3 separate regions of the Homo sapiens genome follow, and all the other regions are linked to region 3. The links are contacts of gene promoters, found by promoter capture Hi-C in blood cells and fetal thymus (Javierre and others, 2016). All regions are on one chromosome and are shown on one strand. Each heading gives the region's core, a stretch centred on a gene start or on the middle of the fragment in contact. The rest is flanking DNA. Distances are from core to core; before and after follow the strand shown. Region 1 overlaps NFE2L3 (NFE2 like bZIP transcription factor 3). Region 2 overlaps SNX10-AS1 (SNX10 antisense RNA 1). Region 3 holds the start of HOXA1 (homeobox A1).

Region 1 (3,538 bases), core at 465-2,964, 940 kb after region 3:
CTGGCTGTAGGCAGCTGTTCCATACGTTTACACATTCAATTCTACAAAAACTGTTCATTTCTTTGTTTAACCTGTGTGTTACTTGGAAGAATGCATGCTTCATCCGTTGTGAATGACTGTGGTTATGAAGGGAAGCGTGTCAGCCCTGGGGAATTCCAGAGTCAGTTTTCAGATCATGATAAGCCCCAGTAAGAAGTGAAACCAAAACAGTACTCCTTTTGATACTTGGAAAATCCCCTACTCCAAAATATTTTTGCATATGTACATAAATTATGGAAAATTATACTATAAAACTCCTGCAACTCAAATGTAAGCCACCGGAATTATCTATTTTTTAAAATTAAAAATTATGTTCCTATGGGACAAAGCACTTCGTCTCTTTGAAGTTAACAGTAGCTAACATTTACTAACTAAGCACTTAAGTGACAGGCAAGTTCTAAGCCCTTTACATGGAATGAACTTTTTAATTCTCACATCAACCCTCTGAGGTAAGCCCCTTCTGATTCCCATTGTGCATGGGAATGCACACAGAATGAAGCACAGAAAGGATAAGCAACTTGTCCAAGGTCACAGACGTGGTAGAGCTGGGATTCAAAACCAGGCAGTCTGGGTCTAGCATACCCCACTTCTTCAATAACCAACCAAACTAGATATGCAGACAAGCCAAAAGGAATCCAGTGAGTGGGGACAGGTGAAGGAGGGTGGGTTAAGGACGGAGGGCAGAAGAGCGCAGCTACAATCCAGGCACCATGCTGCTCTTCCCATGGGCTTTTCCCACTTAATCAGCACACCTCCCCCTGGAGTACACATTCCTCTCCCACTTGACATGAGACACTGAAGCTTGGAGTGATTCAAGCAGCTTATGGGAGGGCATACTAGCAGGTGATACTCCCAAACCCAGGTCTAGCTGACCGCAAAGACCAGTGTTGTTTTTCCAGCCCATTTTCTCCCCAAAGTCATGGTTCCAAATTGCAACCTCTTCATTATGAATGGCACAATCTAGCACTGGAGAGTGATTAGCCTGGGCAGTGGAAGGCTGAGTCACCCCATCCCAGATGCACTGAGACGTCCTAGATGTCCCAAGAGCTTGAGTACCGTGTAGGTACTTAATTAATGTGCCAGTCTGAGAGTCAAGAGACTCAGGCTCTGGTCTCTCTTTTGGCACTGACATGTGGCTTTAGCCAAATCCCTAACCTAGGCTTCTAGTTTTCTTCTTCTTCTTCATTTTTTTTCTTTTTGAGACAGAGTCTCACTCTGTCACCCAGGCTGGAGTTCAGTGGCACAATCTCGGCTCACTGCAACCTCCGCCGCCCAGATTCAAGTGATTCTCGTGCCTCAGCCTCCCGAGTAGCTGGGACTACGGGCATGTGTAATCACGCCCAAGTAATTTTTGTATTTTTAGTAAAGATGGGGTTCACCATGTTGCCCAGTCTGGTCTCGAACTCCTGACCTCAAGTGATCTGCCTGCCTCAGCCTCCCAAAGTGCTGGGATAACAGGTGTGAGCCACCGCACTCAGCCCTATTTTTCTTAAGTACAAATTGTATATAAGGGTGCCTGGCCAGTGCACCACACAAGGTTGATGTAAAAGGCAACAAAAGTGAACTGGCCGTGACAACTGTAAGGAGCTGGACAGCTGATTTTTGCCAGATTGAATGTAACCAGGTCATCCCAGCAGTGAACATGGTGCACACATGCCAGCCCAGCCAGGAAGGCACTGCCAGGAGAATGGTTCTCGGGGAACTTCACTCTCTCCCCTAGGAAAGCTGGATTCAGAGCCTCCACAGTGGTTTGGCTGGCCTAGGCTCAAAAAATGCCTCCAAGGCAGGCCTGCCAGTCTAGGCCACCCATGGTGGCTCATGCCTGTAAACCCAGCACTTTGGGAGGCTGAGATGGGATGGGTACTTGAGCCAAGGAGTTCGAGACCAGCCTAGGCAACATAGCGAGACCTGTCTCTACAAAAAATCAGCCAGTATGGTGGTGCACGCCAGTTCTCCTAGCTACCTGGGAGACTGAAGTGGAAGGATTGCTGGAGCCGGGGAGGTTGAGGCTGCAGTGAGTCGTCATTGCACCTTTGCACTCCAGCCTGGGCAACAGAGCAAGACCCTGTCTTTAAAACAAAACAAACAAAAAAACAGCCAAGGGAAGGCCACTTTGTCTCCCAGGTGATGCCGGGAGGGAAGTTTCCGAGGACTGAACAGCTTCCTCTCTTCTCCCTCCAGGTCCCTGTGCACTTTGCACACAGGTTGGCATTCGGGTGTGGGTGGCAGAGTGCCATCTGGTACAGCATCCAGCACTAGGTTTCAACTCTGTGTTACAGAACCAGGAATGGTGGTAGTGCACAAGTACTCACTTATTAGAGGGCAGAGCATTTAGGTGAGACAGACCCCATGGGGTCCAGATTGGATGAGTGAGTGGGGAAGAACCTCCCACAGTATATCCTGAACACAGAAGGATCCCTCCAAGACTCTCACTGGCCCCCACCCCATTGGTTCCGGTCCCCAGGAAGAGGAAGGGCTCAGATCAGCATAACAGTGAATCACCGAGCACTTCCACACAATGACCCCTCCAGGAGGGTGGAGAAGCTTGTCTGGCAACAGCCTACACAAACGGCAATTCTGAAGAGCAACAAACAAACCAGTTTAGCCCCAATTCCCATTTTGCATAAGAATGCGCCCCACAAAAACAACACCCGAAGAACATTAGTTGATCACCACTGGTTGATCGTTACCAGTTGCAAACACTAAAGTTTGAGCCAAGACAGAATTTTAAAAGTCCCCTGGAAGGAACTTTGGGTAAAGTGGTTTTGTGGAAACTGGTGTTAAAGTGTCATTAGACTGAACTCAAACGTTCCATGGGGAGCACCAGATGTTTCAAGCAACAGATCTTGGTAAACTTGGTTTCAGAAAGAAGTTAAGCCAGAGAAGGGTTTGGACCCATAAACCAAAGGGAACTTGTTAGTCACTAAGTGACTGCCAAGGTACCTGTTTTCGTTATGCTAATAAGAGGTTACACAAATTCCAGGAAGGAGGATTGCTAGGTGCAGGGGATGGTTAGGTCACAGGGGGACCGCCTGCCGGCTGGCCTCTGAATAGACCCTGACCATGGCTCCTTAATCCAGGGAAGCAGCAAAAACGAACAGCAATTGGGCTGAAAACAGGGCGAAGGTCCTTGCGTTAGGCCGGGAGAGTCGTTCTTAAAAACATGCATCCTCCCAGAGGTCACGGCCTCCTTCACATCGTCCAGGTCGGGCACGGGTCCCAGAGAACGACACCCCAGTGTACATGAGGTACTGAGCGAAGACAGTGGGCATTGCTTCTCCCCTCCCCATCCCCGAACTACTCTTGCCAGCCATCACACACAAGGAAAGGTATTCTCTATAACCAAACGGATGATTTCGTCCACTTCTTCCTTAAACACCTAAAAACCACAGCGACAGCACTAGTAGCCCTTCATTCGGAATCAGAGCAGCAGCATCTGCGAACCTGCAAAGACCAGGGGCTAAGGGTGCCAGGACACAGCGAGAGTGGCCCCTGCTCA
Region 2 (3,453 bases), core at 262-2,761, 700 kb after region 3:
AGCACAGGTGAGAACCCAGGCCCCTCTACACTCTCAATCACTCTGCAGTATTTTCCGGGTCCTTCTTACAGCTCACACAACTGTCCAGCACTCCTTTGTCCCCCGAACGCATCACCCCCAGCCATCTTAGGCCGGGCCAGCCCCCCGCCCCCACCCTCACCCCCTCCCTCACCCCCTCCCTCACCCCCTCCCTCACCCCCTCCCTCTCCTTGGCCCAGAAGTAAATCCTAAGTAGTCTAAATCCGTTATGACCAACCCCTTCCCTTGCCCAGGCACTGGCTTAGAAAAGAGCATGTGACCAGTCCTGGCCAAGGCCAAGCCAGGGGACATCTGTTGGGGTTTTCTGGGAAATGCTTCCTTGCCCTAAAAAAAGACACCTCTAGCGATTCCAGTTTCTTCTGTTGTAGAATGTATATCCACCACCTGGCAACCACGGAGGAGCCAGGGAACAAAGTTAGTCTTTGCAGAGATTTACAGGATTAAGTGAGCTAACTCCAGGGTTAAAGTTTAGGAGAATCATGTTTTAGTCCTATCTCTACCTGCGATGGAGTCATGCTGCCTCGTGTTTATTCAGGGACATATTTAAAGTTAACTCCTTTTTGAAACGAGACAAGATAAAAAGATGTAAACAAAGGAAAACTCCAGAAATTTGGTCTTGTCTCCATTAAAGAGTGTCTGTTTCTAGGCACTTCAGTGGAACCTCTCACTTCCAGCTTCTCTTCCTGGGCACTCACCTCTAACTCATTCAGCTTTTTTCCCTCAAAGTAGCTCTTTGCCTACACAGGCAAGGCATCTCTTCCCTCCAGGAACATCAGAACCCCCCTTCTAACCCTCCTGCACCCACACACCCAGGCGTCTGAGCTTGACTGCCTTTGAAATGTTTACTGGCCTTCAAGTAGTCTCTTTGAAGAATTTGCATCTAATTTTGAACTTAGGGAAAATCGGGCATAACCAGTCACTTACTAGTTTCCTTGGCAACTACTTTAAAACAGAATCTAAATTGGAATGAAAATGGATTTTTATGGTTTCACTAAAATCATACACACTTTTCATGAAAATATACCAAAAAAACTATAAAAAATATATACATACTATATGCTTTATTCGTTTATCTGGAATCAATACACAGTAACTAACTCAAATATCTCTGTTCCCCACTGCTGAGGAAAGGCACTCCACACTCCCTTAGCAAGACATTTAAGACCCTCCACAATCTGCACCTAACCCAGCTCCAGCCTTATTTGTCTACTACAGTACATCCCCAAATCATGCTATTGCATTTCCTCTCCCATGACATTCTCTAGAATGCCCTTGAACTTCATGTCCAACTGTTCAAATATCACCGATCTTTCCAAGTCCAGATTAAATATCACCTCTTCCAAGAAGCTTTTCCCATTCCTCACATATAATGACACAAATTGAGTTACTTAGTGTTTATTTTCAGCAATATTTAGCATATTTTATTTACTGATACCCAGTATTGTTAAAATAATGCACATTTCCTAACAGTTGGGGGGCTTCAATATTACCATGCAAACAATTAAAATGAGTAATAAATATTATCAGCAGAATTGTATAAATCTTACTCCCAACTTAAGGCTGAGCTGTTCTGTCAGATGTGATAAAATAAAGCTTCATACGCTGCTTGTTTTTCTTAGGATAACTTTGATTTCAGTAATAGAAAACCTGTCTGTAGTAGCTTTAAAAATGAAGAAAATGTAGTATCTCATGTAGGAAGTACCAAGGTAGCAGATGCTAAGTTTGGTTAATTTAGTGGGTCAAAAATGTTTAATGTTGTCAAGTTTTTCTCGTCTTTCTGAAATTCTGCCATCCTCAGCTTGCTGACCTTGTCCTTAGCTAGTTCTCCTCAAGGTCTCAAAATGGCTGCCATAGTTCCAGGCATCACTTTAAGACATGGCAAAGGCCAGCCAAAAAAGTTGACTGTTCTCAAATTTTTTAAGAGTGGAGAAATTATACCAAAGATCCCTCAGATCTTTTCTCATTGGCCAGAACCAGGGCACGTGACTATCTCTAAACTACCACTGGCAAGAGAGGCAAGATTATCAGAATTGATAACTAATCAGGATTTAGTCTTGAATTATTTTGAGGGTAAGGGGAGCGGTGCAGGAGAGCAGGGAATTGACAGGACAGGCAATGCCAAAACAAAAGCTGAATTTTAGTCCGTTTCCCAGTCATCAATTTCTGCAGCCAAACTATCCCAAAGCTTAGTGGCTTAGAAACTTTTTTATTTTTTCTCTAGAATCTGGACAGGGCAGCTCCCAAGGAATAAGGAATAAGGGAGGATGGCTATTGAGTAGGCACTAAAAGTATCAGCAACTTTTCTTTTCTTTCTTTTTTTTTTTTTTTTTTTGAGATGGAGTCTTACTCTGTTGCCCAGGCCAAGCTGGAGTGCAGTGGCACCATCTCAGCTCACTGGAACCTCTGCTTCCCTGGTTCAAGGAATTCTCCTGCCTCGGCCTCCCAAGTAGCTGGGATTAAAGGCGCATGCCACCACGCCTGGCTAATTTTTGTATTTCTAGTAGACACGGGGTTTCACCATGTTGCCCAGGCTGGTCTCAAACACCCAACCTCAGGTGATCCTCCCACCTCGGCCTCCCAAAGTCCTGGGATTACAGGCGTGAGCCACCACGCCTGGCCAGTATCAGCGACTTATGATGGCTTTTTATTTGAAGATCAAAACCAATCACACTTTGATTATTCTTATATTGGTTCTTTCTACCAAAAAATAGTGTTTGAAAAAATGGTATATATTGATTTAGTCGATAGCAAACTGCTTGGCTGAATCCAATTGATATTTTCTTAGGGTGCAGTAAAATATTTGCTCTTTTGCTTTGCTTTCTCCCCACTAAATAACTAGCCATATTATGGATCCCACATAGGATTTTTCCTTTAACAATATGAATTCTTGACTGAATTAAGCCATTTTTGCCCTAAGTTCTTTAGTTTGTAGACATCTGAGAATTAAGTCAGGAGAATAGCAAATAATTATTTTAATTTAGCAAATAATGTAATAACTGGATTATTCACCATCAGAATATTCCTCTTTGAAAACGTGTAAATCATAGAAATGTTTGAAGATAAAATTATTAGTCATTCCCCTCTCGAAGGCAGATAGGAAAATTGTAACATGTAGTCTTTGTTTTGTAATGTCACTTCATTATCCTAAATAGGCCTTCTAGTTCTCTTTTAATTTATATATATTATAAATAATATTTTTATATATTTTATATATTTATATTATATAAAAATTATATAATATAAATAATATATATTATTTATAATATATTATATATATTTAAATATGTATAATATATATTTAAATTATATATATATATATATATGAGGTAAGAAAGTTCTTAAGTAGTGGCTAAGTCATGTCATTTATCTGGAGTCAATACACGGTAACTAACTCGAACGTCTCTGGTCCCCGCT
Region 3 (3,790 bases), core at 439-2,938:
CAAACCCACATACATTCATTCACTATAAATTTCATCTGATTCCAACATTGTACACATGGTTGGAGTAAAATTTATACAGCATTGCTTATAATTTATACAGCAAAGCTTCCTGGACAAGCTCTCGATTTCTCCTACCCAAGACTGCATCAATTCTTGGTCTCCGTTTGGCTTTTTCTCTCTACAAGCCCAGGGTTGACGTGAAACCTAATAGTAAACAACAATTTAACGACCTCAGCAGCCTCAGGGAAGTAGGGTGATGAGGAACAGGACCCCTGGCCTGGGATGAGGCTCAGATTTGCATGTGTCTCTCTAGGGAAGGACTTGAAGGTTCTCATAAGCAACTACACAGCCAGTTGGAAAGGGGAGGAGGTGTCGTTGGGGTAAAGTGTCCCGTCCACCATCAGCCATTTGTCCACCGCCCCTCCCACCTGCCAGCCCCCACACCCACTCTAGACGTGCAGCAGAATGAGGAAGGTTATAAAAGGAAGCTCTCTCTCTCTTCTAACATTCCCCTCCAGAAAAAGAGGAACGCAACGAAGGGAGTTCAGCTACTATGTTGGAGCTGTGGACCGGCCCTGTGAGGCCCACGCGGGAGCGCGGAGGCTCCTGGGTCTCAGGGCGCCGGCAGATGGCCTGCAGCGCACCGCCCGGCCCCCGCGCTGGCCACGTCCGCCAGCGTCATCTCTCTCCCCCGCCTCCTACCCCTAAAAATCCGGCGGTCGAGTAGCTCCGCATCCCGGAGGGCTCCCGGTGCAAAACTGAGTGGGAAAGAGAAAGGGGCGGAGAGCGACGAGAGAGGGAAGGTGGGGAAGAAGAGCCCGGCCGCCCCCGGCCTTTTCCGGCGAGCTCTGAGTTTCCAGGGCTCATCCGCCCCTCCAAGTCGAATTACAGAAACTCCTCATTGCCATGCTAATGACGAGAGGGGCTGTGGGGAGAGGGTTTCGAAGACCCTCCTGGAAGAAGGGAAGTTTCTTTTCTTGCCCTCGTCTCCTTCACGCCCACCCGAGTTCCTCCCAGCCAGCCCTCTGCGCTCTTCCCCCTCCATTCCGAGCTTGAAGAGCCGGTGGCCCAGCCTCGCCCTCCACCACGGTTCTATGCGCTCCTCACAGCCCCACGGTCTCCCAGCCCAGCCTCAGAACAGAGGAGGTGGCCTGGGAACCCGGGGCGCGGTGTCAGCCGGATTCCCCGCCTTCCGGCTGGGCGCGCTGCGGGCTGGGCCGGCGTACTTGCGGCCACCCGGCGAGCTCTGGCCCACTGATTCCCGCCCCGAGAGAGCCGGGAGCCCTCTTCCCTTCTCACCTCTCGCCAGTTCATCTTTCATTGAACGGTGGGGAGGGGGCGGGAGCGGGGGACGCCTCCCAGCCCCCACCTCCCGGAGGCCTGGCGGGGCGGGCAGCGGAGTCGGGCGCGCGCAGAACGCAGCTTTTGCTCTTCTTCGCTCCAGCACTCCAAATCGGCCTTTGCAGTCGCCGCAGCAGCTGCCGCCGCCTAGGCTGCCTGGGGGGGCGACTGCGCGTCACCTAGACGGCGGAGCGCCGGGGATTTAAATGCCACTAAAACGGTGATCCATCACTGCGGAAGCCGGCAAACTTTTGCAGGAGGCTCAGCCATTGGCTGACACCGTCACGTGCCCCTCCTCCAGCGTCCTCCGCCCTCCCGCCCCCCCTCTTGCGCACTGTACATTCATATCATTTTTCTTCTCCGGCCCCATGGAGGAAGTGAGAAAGTTGGCACAGTCACGCCGGGCTTCGCAGGACCAGGTCACTCAGTGACAGATGGACAATGCAAGAATGAACTCCTTCCTGGAATACCCCATACTTAGCAGTGGCGACTCGGGGACCTGCTCAGCCCGAGCCTACCCCTCGGACCATAGGATTACAACTTTCCAGTCGTGCGCGGTCAGCGCCAACAGTTGCGGCGGCGACGACCGCTTCCTAGTGGGCAGGGGGGTGCAGATCGGTTCGCCCCACCACCACCACCACCACCACCATCGCCACCCCCAGCCGGCTACCTACCAGACTTCCGGGAACCTGGGGGTGTCCTACTCCCACTCAAGTTGTGGTCCAAGCTATGGCTCACAGAACTTCAGTGCGCCTTACAGCCCCTACGCGTTAAATCAGGAAGCAGACGTAAGTGGTGGGTACCCCCAGTGCGCTCCCGCTGTTTACTCTGGAAATCTCTCATCTCCCATGGTCCAGCATCACCACCACCACCAGGGTTATGCTGGGGGCGCGGTGGGCTCGCCTCAATACATTCACCACTCATATGGACAGGAGCACCAGAGCCTGGCCCTGGCTACGTATAATAACTCCTTGTCCCCTCTCCACGCCAGCCACCAAGAAGCCTGTCGCTCCCCCGCATCGGAGACATCTTCTCCAGCGCAGACTTTTGACTGGATGAAAGTCAAAAGAAACCCTCCCAAAACAGGTCAGTCCTGCTGGTTGGTGGATGCTCCTTGATTATTCTGGAAGGAGCTGGTATGCTTAATTTCCAAGGAAATTAATAATGATCTTTTTTTTAAAAGGCTTTTGTATCAGACTAGTGTTGTAGTGCATGGAGAGGGTGCCCAGAGGTGTTGGGGCAAAGAAGTCTCAGGGATTGGTGTGTTTTCAAGGATTTTATACATTTGGGAAATAGGAAGTATGTGGGGGTGGTTATTGTGACGGTAGTGTTCTGTTAATATCTTGAGGCTCCATTAATCACCGGTCTGACCATGCTAATGGTTTACATCAGGTTAACACTTTACACCTCATCACTCACCCTCCACAGCCCGATTTGTGCTGAGTTCTTGATCTTTTCTTTACCTGAGTGTTGCCATGAAGCGTGTGGGGAATCTCAAGTCGATTTAAAAATTTTTACATTTCCGTCTCATGGCTTCCCACTTTGCCCCAGGGAAAGTTGGAGAGTACGGCTACCTGGGTCAACCCAACGCGGTGCGCACCAACTTCACTACCAAGCAGCTCACGGAACTGGAGAAGGAGTTCCACTTCAACAAGTACCTGACGCGCGCCCGCAGGGTGGAGATCGCTGCATCCCTGCAGCTCAACGAGACCCAAGTGAAGATCTGGTTCCAGAACCGCCGAATGAAGCAAAAGAAACGTGAGAAGGAGGGTCTCTTGCCCATCTCTCCGGCCACCCCGCCAGGAAACGACGAGAAGGCCGAGGAATCCTCAGAGAAGTCCAGCTCTTCGCCCTGCGTTCCTTCCCCGGGGTCTTCTACCTCAGACACTCTGACTACCTCCCACTGAGGCGGCTCCAGCCCCAGACAACAGCCCAGGCATCTCCTTGGGCTGGGACTTCTTACCCAAAGCACATGCTTAGCTTATCTTTCTTTCCATTTACAGTCTCTTTCTTCCTTTCTAATCCTATCTGGGGAGCTCCTGGCCAGGATAATATATTTGCAGATAATTCTGGACCAGAGACTTGGTGCGGGGTTAACACCTTCATCCAGATTGGGTGCCAGCATACATTTTCTGGTGGGCCTTAACATCCCTCCTGCTTTTAGGAGAATTCACAGAACCTACTGTTCCTTTCAGATGACCTTTTGGAAAATAGTTCCCTTTGCCAACAGAAACATGCCAGAAGGAATCTTCTCATCTTTTATCTAACTATATGTACAGCTCTCCCCTCCCTTGTCCTTGAAAGTAGGATATAGCGAAAGGCGAGTCCAGGAGCTCAGGAAGAAGAGATGCACTATATGTTTACACAATTAATTCATCCCTTAATTTAAGTCATTTTCATGTGTGTGAGTTTGCTGGTTGTAAATACTTTGTCCTAAGAGATTTATCTT

What was found. The method cuts DNA at HindIII sites, captures the fragments that hold promoters and counts their contacts. A CHiCAGO score of 5 or more calls a contact.
Region 1: a fragment that was not itself captured here is called in contact with the fragment with the promoter of HOXA1 in region 3 in 1 of 17 cell types (endothelial precursors); the score reaches 6.6 in endothelial precursors.
Region 2: a fragment that was not itself captured here is called in contact with the fragment with the promoter of HOXA1 in region 3 in 1 of 17 cell types (M1 macrophages); the score reaches 5.1 in M1 macrophages.

The regions. Positions count from the first base shown.
Region 1 is chr7:26,153,142-26,156,679 of GRCh38, reverse strand. All of the region lies in intron 1 of NFE2L3 (NFE2 like bZIP transcription factor 3), which reads right to left. Among named protein-coding and RNA genes, the nearest start is that of NFE2L3, 2.7 kb to the right of the region's middle. RefSeq lists enhancers at 3,394-3,538, 2,934-3,538. The HindIII fragment of the contact is 1,743 bases long and covers 843-2,585 here.
Region 2 is chr7:26,394,364-26,397,816 of GRCh38, reverse strand. All of the region lies in intron 1 of SNX10-AS1 (SNX10 antisense RNA 1), which reads left to right. Among named protein-coding and RNA genes, the nearest start is that of LINC02981, 2.5 kb to the left of the region's middle. RefSeq lists enhancers at 1-81, 1-112. The HindIII fragment of the contact is 246 bases long and covers 1,389-1,634 here.
Region 3 is chr7:27,093,898-27,097,687 of GRCh38, reverse strand. HOXA1 (homeobox A1) reads left to right here and starts at 1,688. Exons shown (of 2, transcript NM_005522.5): 1 at 1,688-2,427; 2 at 2,893-3,790. The coding sequence starts at 1,776. The coding sequence ends at 3,248. HOTAIRM1 (HOXA transcript antisense RNA, myeloid-specific 1) reads right to left here and starts at 1,594. Exons shown (of 2, transcript NR_038367.1): 1 at 1,300-1,594. RefSeq lists enhancers at 726-1,298, 1,424-1,718, 2,600-3,100, 3,101-3,601 and a silencer at 1,202-1,371. The HindIII fragment of the contact is 6,567 bases long and covers 108-3,790 here.